Regions from separate parts of the Homo sapiens genome. Here region 1 is linked to region 2. The links are contacts of gene promoters, found by promoter capture Hi-C in blood cells and fetal thymus (Javierre and others, 2016). All regions are on one chromosome and are shown on one strand. Each heading gives the region's core, a stretch centred on a gene start or on the middle of the fragment in contact. The rest is flanking DNA. Distances are from core to core; before and after follow the strand shown.

Region 1 (6,005 bases), core at 2,552-5,051, 100 kb before region 2:
TCTGGAGCAGCAGGAGGCAAAGTTGAAGAGCCAGGCATGGGTCAAACTGTGGAGGAACAGTGAGCCATTGTTACCTGGAGGGGGTGGCGGGCAGTCCTTTTTCTTAGAGTTCCCAAGATGGTGGCGGACCGCTTCCAAGATGGCGGCGGACCGCTTCCAAGATGGCGGCAAGCCTCTTGTTCTCTGACCTGCGGTTCTTGGCATCACAGATTCCAAGGAATGGAATCTTGGGCCATGCGGTGAGTGTTACAGCTCTATCAGAAGCTGTGGGTCATGGAATAAAACTGTGGAACCCAGCGACTAGTGTTTAGCTCGATTAGGATGAACCCGGGCACTTAGGCATGCAGGAACAAAGGCGAGCCTTTAGCCCCATTGGGAGCGGCAATGGGCGCCTCGCTGGATCAGCAGCACAGCAGACACGGTGCGGGATCTGGAGGGGTGGAAGTCAGCGATGGGTCTGCCACAGCGGCAAACAGCAGTGGTGGATGGCGAGCGAAAGCTCAGCTCGAGCAGTAACAAACACGGAGCAGCAGTGTGTGCAGTTGCAAGATTTAATAGAGTGAAAACAGAGCTCCCATAAAATGGGAGGGGACCCAAAGGGGCGTTGCCGTTGCCGGCTTGAATGCCTGGGTTTATATCCCGATCATTGTCCCTCCCGCTGTGCTCTCAGGCAATAGATGATTGGCTATTTCTTTACCTCCTGTTTTAGCCTAATTGGCATTTTAGTGGGCTCTCTTTACTACCTGATTTGTCGGGTGTGAGCTAAGTTGCAAGCCCCATGTTTAAAGGTGGATGTGGTCAGCTTCCCAGCTAGGTTTAGGGATTCTTAGTTGGCCTAGGAAATCCAGCTAGTCCTGTCTCTCACCATCACAGGTGTCTGAGCAGGAGACTGGGATGGTCCAGTTTCTGATTTAGAAAAATCACCTGGGGCTGGAGTGGGGAGAAGAGATGGGTGGAGAGGTGAGCCTGCAGACAAATTAGATCAGGATCCCCACGTGGTCCCTCGGCAACCTTTGTCCCACTTCCACAATCTCTAAATTCTAGAGAAAGTGGGCCCTTGCTGAGATGGTGGCAGCAATCCTCTGAGAAGAATTCTCCAAGGGACCTCTCCATAGGTCTCTTTACACAGAGTTGTGAGTCCATTTCCTGGACCTTTCTTAAACCCCCCAAATAAAGTTCCAGGTAGGAGAACCTGAGACATTGCTAACACACCCTGGGGCAGCAGTTTTCCAAGTGGGGCCCCAGATCACTAGGAGCAGCAGCATTGCATGAGAACTTTAAGATCTCATCTTCTTGAGACCTACTTTATAGGTATTGAACCAGAAACTCTGGGGCCCAGCTACGGTGGGTTTTGTTTTTGCTTTTTTTTTTTTTTTTTTTAGAGCCAGAGTCTTGCTCTGTTGCCCAGGTTGGAGTGCAATCGTATGATTATGGCTCACTACAGCCTCTAACTCTTGGGCTCAAATGATCCTCCTACCTCAGCCTCCCAAGTAACTGGGACCACAGGGGTGCCACCATACCCAGCATTGTGACAGGCTTTCACTTTGCAGAGATGGGATCTCACTATGCTGCCCAGGCTGGTCTCAAATTCCTGGACTTGAATGATTCTCCCACTTCGGCCTCCCAAAGTGCTGAGATTACAGGCATGAGCCACTATGCCCAGCCCCAGCTAGTGTTTTTAACAAGCTCCAGGTGATTCTGATGCAAGGTTCAAGTTTGAGAACCACTACCTTGTGCTAGCACAAACTCAGATGAGTTATATGGAGAACTGATCAGCAGGCTCCCAACATCCTATTTTTGTTTTGTTTCTTTAAGAAAAAGAAAAGCTTCAAGCCTAATCAAAGTCACCACCAAGCAACTTAGATGTTCCATGTGTAGGCTGGGCGTGGTGGCTCAAGCCTGTCATCCTAACACTTTGGGAGGCTGAGGCGGGCGGATTGCTTGAACCCAGGAGTTCAAGACCAGCCTGGGCAATATAGTGAAACCCCATCTCTACAGAAATTACAAAAATTAGCCAAGCCCAGTGGTGGTGCGTGCCTGTAGTCTCAGCTACTTGGGAGGCTGACGCGGGAGGATCACTTGAACCCAGGAGGTGTAGGTTGCAGTGAGCTGAGATTGTGCAACTGCACTCCAGCCTGGGCAACAGAGCTAGACCCTGTCTCAAAAACAAAAAAAAAGGTTTTATTTGACAGACATGGAATGATTATGATTTATTTGATAATCTAGCAAATGATTTTTAAAAACCTACTATTTGCACTGTACTTTCTGGGCAGAGGGAAGAAAGAAATAAAAAAGACACAAGGTTCCTTCCTCCAGTAGGATTCTGCCGTCACCACATCATCAATCATCATCATCATTATCAATCATCATCATCCAAACATCATCATTACTATCATCAATCATCACCATCTTCAAAAAACATCTTTTAATGCTAATGATAGTCACTTATAAGAATCCACGTCTGAAAATCCACAAGGGATTTCTGAGAACTCATTTTGTACCCAGCTCTGTTCCCTAAGGCTTCTGCCTACAACTGATTTGCTGTCTGGTTCAGTCAGAACTTGAACACAAGAAGCAATCAGTCACACAGGGCAGCAGATAATTGTGGGCTAAATGTTTCCAAGCTTAAGCAGGCCTGTGGATTCAAGAGTCCTCTTCCAGCTTTATGCAGATGGCCTTCATTTTCACTCCTTGCCTGAAGCCCTGTATTTTTCTTCTTTTTTTTTTTTAATCCAGATAGTGGCAATCACATGCTACAAGATAAACAAGGTGATGCCCTTTGCATCTCCCTACTCTCTTATCCACAGCAATTTCCCAGCCTATTTTTCAAAAACCCCCAAAGGAATTATTAGGCTGGCTGTGCACGGTGGCTCACACCTGTAATCCCAGCACTTTAGGATGCCAAGGCGGGTGGATCACCTGAGGTCAGGAGTTCGACACCAGCCTGGCCAACATGGTGAAACCCCGTCTCGACTGAAAATACAAAATTAGCCGGGCGTGGTGGCACATGCCTGTGATCCCAGCTACTTGGGAGGCTGAGGCAGGAGAATCACTTGAGCCCAAGAGGCAGAGGTTGCAGTGAGCCAAGATTGCACCATTGCACCCCAACCTGGGCAACAGAGCGAGACTCTGTCTCAAAAAATAAAAATAAAAAAAGATAAAGGGGATTATTAGGCCTATCAGACCCCAAATACTGCCAGAATGAGGCCAGAATTTCCCAGGAATTGAGCTCCCACTCCCCACCCTGCAGGCATTGAGTCATGCGTCTCCAGGAGAGAGCATTTGGCTACACCTTTGGTGCTATCGAGGAAATCATGATGCCCAGTGGTCCACAGCTCTTAGGAATCTGAGCTTCTCTGGGTTTGTCCGTGGACGTGGGGAGAGGAGTCTTTTGGTGCCCTGACTCTAAGAACTTTGACCTTTAATTCTGAAGTCCTGGGCCCCTATCATCTCTCTCCCAAAGGGAGTGTTTGAGGATATGGCAAGTGCGGCATTAACAGATGATTCTAGGAAGAAGAGGAAAAGGCCTGTTCTATAAATAAATGTACTGTTCCTGAATGAGGCACTGTCCTCCTCCCTACTCCCACCCAATCACCCTTGTGACTCTTTCAGAGCAGAGCAGAGCAGCCCCGAGCCAAGGATTAGTGTGATCACAAGGTCAACAATAGATACCCTGTCCATAAATACTCCTGGAGAGCTTTAGTCATTGACTAGGAGCCAGGAGTGGGGGAATAAGAAGAGGGGAAGGGAGAGAGCTGGAAGCCTGTAGGGCTAGCTTGAAACATCTACAGTTGTTTGTTTGTTTGTTTGTTTGTTTGTTTGTTTAAAAAAGCCCAACTTTCCTCCTGAATGTGAAAGTCTCTGGATGGCGTGGAGAAGGGAGGGGACACGGGCTTCAGGAGGGGGATACTGGGAGGGATGGATGAACCCCAGAGAAGGACTCTTGTTTTTAGGGTGGTTAGCTTTATCCTCAGAGCACAGATCTGCCCCCAAAATCTTTGTTAAAAGAAACCCAAGAGCTGGCCGGGTGCGGTGGCTCATGCGTATAATCCCAGCACTTTGGGAGGCCAAGGCAGGTGGATCACCTGAGGTCAGGAGTTTGAGACCAGCCTGGCCAATATGGTGATACCCTGTCTCTACTAAAACACAAAAATTAGTTGGGCGTGGTTGTGGGCACCTGTAATCCCAGCTACTTGGAAGGCTGAGACAGGAGAATGGCTTGAACCCAAGAAGTGGAGGTTGTAGTGAGCCAAGATCATGCCACTTACACTCCAGCCTGCATGACAGAGCAAGACTCCACCTCGAAAAGAAAAGAAAAGAAACCCAAGAGCTGGTACCACCAGCAATTTCAGAATCTCTTTTGTTATATCTTCAGTAAGCAGGAAGAGAGAGCCAGGCTCCTGCATTGATAAGGCTGGGAAACAGTTTAATATCTAACCTTTTTGGATATGAGGACCAATGAAGCCAAGCGATAATCTGTTGGAGGGGCCTGTTCTGCGGGTTCTGAGGACCCCGGGGATCTTTAAGTCCTCACTTTCTTTTTGGGCATGAACATTTGGGTGTTGCAGGCAGATAAAAGTGGTGGGGGAATGTGATCAAGAGATGGAAAGCTGCGTGTAGGAGCGCACTGCCCACCAGCATTGCACCTAAATAAAGAAGGCCACGATGTGCTGTGACAGTGCCACAGAACTGATAGTCTGCATTTTCACCAGGCAGAGGGGAGGACAGGGGGGTGGGTCGGCTTTACTGTCACCAGCAGAGAACTTCCAGAGCAGCTTGGATGAATCATCTGGTGCACACGCACACTCAACATTTTAAAATATGGATGATGGGGCTGGGGAGGCGCCAACTCACAAAAGCTGACTGTTGGGTACATAATTTTTTGGACCCGGTGTGTCTAATTCCATCTTCAATTATTGATTCTTTTGATCCCTTTCAAGTGAAACTTTAAGTGACTTATCTAAAAATAGGCTACTGCTAAGCTTATGTTAGAAGGAGGTAAAAACCTAAGTTATTTAAGATGATGTGGCTAATGTAAGTGACTAATCAGAAAACAAATTAGCTAATTGGTTGTGGTCACAATGTTATTAACATTAGATGCTACTAACATCTTTGTTTTGCCTTTTTTAAAATTTTTTAAGAGACAGAGTCTCACTATGCTGCCCAGGCTGGTCCTGAACTCCTGGCCTCAAGAGATTCTCCTGCCTCAGCCTCCCAAGTAGCTGAGATTACAGGCATGAGCCACTGTGTCTGACTGTTTTATTTTTTAAAACCAAAGTTTAGGGCGAGGCATGGTGGCTTACACTTGTAATCCCAGTGCTTTGGGAGGCCAAGGCAGGAGGAGTGCTTAAGACCAGGAGTTGGAGACCAACCTGGGCAACACAGTGAGACCACTACAGAAAACTTAAAAATTAGCTGGGCCTGGTGGCTCACACCTGTAGTTCCAGCTGCCCAGGAGGCTGAGGAGGGAGGATCGCTTGGGCCCAGGAGTTCGAGGTTACAGTGAACTATGATTGCACCACTGCATTCCAGCCTGGGCAACAGAGCAAGAACTTGTCTCAAAAACTTAAAAAATAAATAAAAATAAAACCAAGGTTTAGGTTCTGAGTTCCAGGGTGAATTTGTGTTTATAATTGATATTCAGAGCAAAAATTCACCATCCCTTTGTCCCCATGTTGGAGAAAGGGCATGGCTTTAGGTGGACAATAGATCTGAAAAATGTTGCCATTTCTTATCCCCAGAAACAAAAAGCCACTGAATTAAATTCCTTATTTGTCTTTGGAGACACAGGTTCTACTTCTGCAGAAAAGATGAAAGCAGATTCTGGCCAAGCAAACGAGAATGTAAGAAACTCTTACGAGATTCAGAGGTCAAAAGCTAGCTAAACGTAGCTGTAAAGGACTTTTTTGTGTGTGTACTTGGAGCTATGTGAAGATGGACTCTACAGGAGGTGATAGTTAAGCAATACTAATGCCTTGCTGTGATCTAAAAGGCTAAAACTTGCT
Region 2 (5,933 bases), core at 1,451-3,950:
GTGGAACTCATGAAAATAGGGACTTTTGATATCTCTTTAAATATTCCCTGACTCACGGAAAAGATGTCCTCTTTTGGTGTATACATTGTGAAAATCTACCCATTTATCTCTCTCTCTCTCTTTTCTTTTAAATAAATTATCTGATAAGGCCGGCAAGGTGGCTCACGCCTGTAATCCCAGCACTTTGGGAGGCCGAGGCGAGCGGATCACGAGGTCAGGAGATCGAGACCGCGGTGAAACCCCGTCTCTACTAAAAATACGAAAAAAAAATTAGCCGGGCGCAGTGGCAGGCGCCTGTAGTCCCAGCTACTTGGGAGGCTGCGGCAGGAGAATGGTGTGAACCTGGGAGGCGGAGCTTGCAGTGAGCCAAGATCGCGCCACTGCACTCCAGCCTGGGCGACAGAGCAAGACTCCATCTCAAAAAAAAAATTATCTGATAGGTTACTATTGCTAAATTAATTGGCCATTATAATAAGCTGATTTGTTTCTTATTCAGCAAGATCTCTTTTGAGAATGTGACAAATTAAACATACATAGAATCCATATGGTATTATCCTGATAAAGGGAAACGAGGACACTAAGACTGTCAAATGGAAATCTTCTTGTCAATTGGCAAACACTTGGGAATTCCACATTAGAGCATTGCTTGTTTTTAATTTTTTTTTTTTAATTTTTAAAAGACAGGGTCTCACTCTCTTACCCAGGCTAGAGTGCAGTGGTGTGATCATAGTTCATCATAACTTTGAATCTCTGGGCTTAAGCAATCCTCCCATGTTAGCTTCCCAAGTAGCTAGGACTACAGGGTTGTGCTACCACGCCTGGCTAATTTTTAATTTTTTTTTATCTACAGAGCCTGGCTATGTTGCCCAGGCTCTCTCAAACTCCTGGCCCAAGTGATCCTCCTGCCTTGGCCTCCTAAAGTGTTGGGATTACAGGTGTGAGCCACTGCACCTAGCCAGAACATCGTTAATGTAGTTCAATATGAGATAAATTATTATCTTCAATGAAACAAGCTCTAAAAGCATTCCATTCCTAAATTGTATTTCAAACTTCCTATTTTGTTGATATTTCTTAACTTCTGGCCAGTTTTGGACCATAATCTTTTAATGTGAACCAAAGATGGTACGTATTTGACCAAAGCAGTTAGTTTTAAATGTATAAAATTGAACCAAATGGAAAAAATAGGTTGGGGATGCAGTATAGATTAGTGACTAAGTGCATAGGCTCTGGAGTAAATCTGAGTTTTTTTTTTTTTAAAGGAACTAAAAAATGTACTGCATTTTCTTTGTGGAATAAAAGCCTTGCCTGAGTTGTGCTATTTTCATAAGGCTTTTGAAGTGGTCTTGACCCACTGTGTGTAACAGTATTTCAGGTGGTCCTCCCCATGGCTGAATAATGCCATCCATTATTCTTTAATTTTTATTTTTAGAAACAGTGTTTCACTCTGTCACCCAGGCTGGAGTGCAGTGGCCTGATCATGGCTCACTGCAGCCTGGACCTCCTGGGCTCAAGTGATCTTCCTGCCTCACAGCCTCCCAAAGTACTCAGATTATAGGTGTGAGCCACCACGCCTGGCCACCATCTATTACTTTTGAAATCTTCAAAAGACTTGCTTACTCAATGTCAGCTGATGGTTGGTAAAAATAATTTGGCCTTTAGTGTTAAGTGAGACATCATAAGGGTATTGAGGTATACATTATGGAGATTGATGTCAGGTCAGAATATTGGAGTTATACATCTATTTCTGAGTTGAATACTCAGCTCCCACGAGAAAGAAAGTAGTTTTAAGGTCCAGCTTCTTAGTCTACTTGAAGCAAATTTTTTTTCTTTTATATTTCTGAATATAAATATACTCTTATATGGGCTAAAAAGACCCCATGAATAAATAGCAGGTTCAGTAGTTGAGGAGTGGAGTTTAGTAGGTTTGTTTTCAGTATAAATTAGATAACATGTGGAGGTCACAGCATTTTGGAAATTGAGTGTCCCCAAGTGAGCTTTGTTTATAAACTTTCAAAATGTCGGAAGTGGACAGGTTTGTTAAATCTTGTCTGCCAGCACCCTTTTCTTCCTTTGTTCCTTTTCCTCTCTGTGTTATTGCCTGCGGCAGCCAGTCCTTCATACTAGATAGAGTTCAGATAAAGCAAACGTTTGGCAAAAACATACTGTTTGACCTCCTCCCCCTCTGCTTATGAAGGGGTAGCATGATTCTGTGTTTTAAAGCAGTGATGTTTCAGCTGTGAAATGCACTCGCTGTAAGCTCTAGGCTGAGTGCATGGAAACTGTTACGCTTCTCATTTTATGTGATCTCCTAATTGGTATGTAGCAAAAATTTTCTAAAACTGTTTTGTGGCTTGTTTTGTAATAAAACCATGTGAAATACTGAAATATGGTCATGTGTTTTCCTAATACTGACCTTCTGACCATGGGTGGGTGAGCTTTCTTATCAGTCTGCCCTCATTGTCGGTTTTAGGGATTTCAGGAGGTAGGTTCCTGCTCCGGGTAGGGCTAGAGACCTTCCCCTCATTGCCTGGGGGAGAACCTGGCTCCGGGGCGCCGACGGGGGCGGGTGGTAGGGGATGTACGGGTGTGTATATGCAGAGGTATGCCAGGCTCTGCCCCTTAAAGTTTGGGGGCCGGCGGAGGCGGCGCCGTGGCCGGGAGAAAGTGTCTCTCATTTAGGAGGGTTTGCAGGTCCAGAGTAAAGTCACTGAAGAGTGGAAGCGAGGAAGGAACAGGATGATTAGACCTCAGCTGCGGACCGCGGGGCTGGGACGATGCCTCCTGCCGGGGCTGCTGCTGCTCCTGGTGCCCGTCCTCTGGGCCGGGGCTGAAAAGCTACATACCCAGCCCTCCTGCCCCGCGGTCTGCCAGCCCACGCGCTGCCCCGCGCTGCCCACCTGCGCGCTGGGGACCACGCCGGTGTTCGACCTGTGCCGCTGTTGCCGCGTCTGCCCCGCGGCCGAGCGTGAAGTCTGCGGCGGGGCGCAGGGCCAACCGTGCGCCCCGGGGCTGCAGTGCCTCCAGCCGCTGCGCCCCGGGTTCCCCAGCACCTGCGGTTGCCCGACGCTGGGAGGGGCCGTGTGCGGCAGCGACAGGCGCACCTACCCCAGCATGTGCGCGCTCCGGGCCGAAAACCGCGCCGCGCGCCGCCTGGGCAAGGTCCCGGCCGTGCCTGTGCAGTGGGGGAACTGCGGGGATACAGGTGAGCCGCGGGGGCGCGCGCCCTCGGAACACTTTCTAACTCTGGAGGAGCGTAAAGGAACAAGACCTCACTGAGACCGCACAGTTCGCGCCTGGTCCTCCTGCGTCATTTGCCTCCTGGATTCGACACCTCTGTGTTCCTGATTTCCTTTCCTCCTTAACAGGGGCTCTTTACCGGCTGCTACGTGGTTTCTCCCTCCCCATGCACCTTTTGAACACTGTCTTGCCTTTAACATTTTTCCAACTAGGATAGCAGGTCTGGTTCCCTCGAGGCGTACTCTTGAGCCAGTATTTTTTCATAGGGACCAGAAGCGCAGGCCCGCTCAGGAGGAATTACAACTTCATCGCCGCGGTGGTGGAGAAGGTGGCGCCATCGGTGGTTCACGTGCAGCTGTGGGGCAGGTAAAGGAGGAGGAGGAAGACCTCCACTGTCCCAGCTAATGGTTTCTGCGTGCCTACCTGCTCCAGACCCTTCGCAAGCGTCATTTAATCCTAAAAAACCAGTGAGGAAACTGAGACGTAAAGAGGTTGAATAACCTGTTCAAGGTCATTTAACCAAAGAGCAGAGGCACAAGGATGCTGACTTCTAAATCCCAGCTCCCCCTGCCCACTTAGGTGGCTGGTGCTTTTTCCCCCTCCTGCCACAGACAAAATTTAAGGTCAGATATAAGAGCTAGTAGGCAATTTCTTTTCTTTTTTTGAGACAAGGTCTTGCTCTGTCGCCAGGGCTGAAATGCAGTGACAGATCACGGCTCACTGCAGCTCCATCTGCTGGGCTCAAGTAATCCTCCCAACCCAGCCTCTGGAGTAACTGGGACTATAGGCAGGTGCCACCATACCCAGCTAATATTTGTATTTTTTTGTAGAGACGAGGTCTTGTTATATTGCTCAGGCTGGTCTCGAACTCCTGGGCCCAAACGATCTGCCACCTTAGCCTCCCGACGTGCTGGGATTACGGGTGTAGCCACCACATCCAGCTTAGTAGGCATTTTGGTTGTGATCTTGCTCAGCCCCCACTTTGGATACAAGGAAATCCAGACCCAGAGAGCAGGGTTAATTTGTCCTATGTTACTATGTTACGAGGCCAGTTGGCGGTGGAAACTAAGCCAGAATCAGAGCCCTTTGATTCTCTCCTGCCTGGGTCCTTGATACTGTGGTAAGAGGCTGACTTTTGCCTCTAGTATTAGGATTGGGTTCAGTCTTTTCGCAGCAGAGAACCCATGGGCTGCTACACTAACCAGCTCTGAAGAAGCAGTGTCCCTGGAAAAGGAGAGCTGGACCCCACTCTCAACCATGCTCACAAGAGATGGCTGGGGCCCTGTACCTGCCAAGTCCACTGATACATGGAGAAAATTTACGCATAGCCAGGGAAAAGTGAAATGTCTGAGAAAACTGAAGGAAGGCTGGGTACGGTGGCTCATGCCTGTAATCCCAGCACTTTGGGAGGCCGAGGCGGGTGGATCACCTGAGGTCAGGCGTTCGAGAGCAGCCTGGCCAACATGGTGAAACCCCATCTCCACTAAAAATACAAAAATTAGCCAGGCGTGGTGGTGCATGCCTGTTATCCCAGCTACTTGGGAGGCTGAGGCAGGAGCCTGGGAGGTGGTTGCAGTGAGCCGAGATTGCGCCACTGCACTCCAGCTTGGGCAACAGAGCGAGATTCTGTCTCAAAAAAGAAAAAAGAAAAGAAAAGAAAACTATGATGGAGGTATGTTTAATAAGAGTGAGGTTCCCATGACTCAGATTATATGGCTGTATCCCCTAACTTTCTTGCCCTCTGTTTACACTATTGTCTTGTGGAGACAGGTTACTTCACGGCAGCAGGCTTGTTCCTGTGTACAGTGGCTCTGGGTTCATAGTGTCTGAGGACGGGCTCATTATTACCAATGCCCATGTTGTCAGGAACCAGCAGTGGATTGAGGTGGTGCTCCAGAATGGGGCCCGTTATGAAGCTGTTGTCAAGGATATTGACCTTAAATTGGATCTTGCGGTGATTAAGATTGAATCAAATGTGAGTATTTCAGGGCTGAGTCAGAGTCTACATATTTGGGGATTTTTATCTATTTGCTGATATTTTCTGCCCCACTACACTCTCACACCACATCTTTTCTGTTGAATATATGCTTTTCTCTGGTTTCTTTCTGTTCTTTACTCCCTCTTTTATTTATTTGCTTCAACGCCTTTCTGTATATCCCTAACCGTTTCTTTCTTTTCTTTCTTTTTTTTTGAAACAGTCTCCCTCTGTCACCCAGGCTGGAGTACAGTGGCTCAATCTCAGCTCACTGCAACCTCTGCCTCCTGGGTTCAAGTGATTCTCCTGCCTCAGCTTCCTGAGTACCTGGGATTACAGGTGCCTGCCACCACGCCTGGCTAATTTTTGTACTTTTAGTAGAGACTGGGTTTTACCATGTTGGCCAGGCTGGTCTCGAACTCCTGACCTCAAGTGATCCGCCCGCTTCGGCCTCCCAAAGTGCTGGGATTACAGGTGTGAGCCACTGCGCTTGGCCTCTAACTGTTTCTATTAACTATCAAGCAGTCTTTTTTTTTTTTTTTTCCTCCTTCAACAAATGCTGCTTCAGGGAAAATTATTTCTCTACTTGTCTTAGGATATCAGAAATTACTGCGATGGACTCAAAGTTGCTAAGGAATACTTTGAAGTCCTTCCTACACATAGTACTGGTAGTCTGCACATCACATATATTGACATGGTGTCTGAGAGCTTTTTAGAAGTT

Evidence for each region. The method cuts DNA at HindIII sites, captures the fragments that hold promoters and counts their contacts. A CHiCAGO score of 5 or more calls a contact.
Region 1: a contact is called between a fragment that was not itself captured here and the fragment with the promoter of HTRA4 in region 2, in 2 of 17 cell types (total CD8 T cells and non-activated CD4 T cells). The highest score is 7.1, in total CD8 T cells.

What each region holds. Positions count from the first base shown.
Region 1 is chr8:38,867,618-38,873,622 of GRCh38, forward strand. No RefSeq gene overlaps it. Among named protein-coding and RNA genes, the nearest start is that of PLEKHA2, 31 kb to the right of the region's middle. RefSeq lists enhancers at 1-776, 1-441. The HindIII fragment of the contact is 2,358 bases long and covers 2,623-4,980 here.
Region 2 is chr8:38,971,528-38,977,460 of GRCh38, forward strand. It overlaps HTRA4 (HtrA serine peptidase 4), which reads left to right and starts at 2,701. Exons shown (of 9, transcript NM_153692.4): 1 at 2,701-3,202; 2 at 3,504-3,603; 3 at 5,008-5,212. The coding sequence starts at 2,737. It overlaps PLEKHA2 (pleckstrin homology domain containing A2), which reads left to right. Exons shown (of 12, transcript NM_021623.2): 12 at 1-2,385. RefSeq lists a silencer at 2,868-3,097 and an enhancer at 3,278-3,337. The HindIII fragment of the contact is 7,181 bases long and covers 1-5,933 here.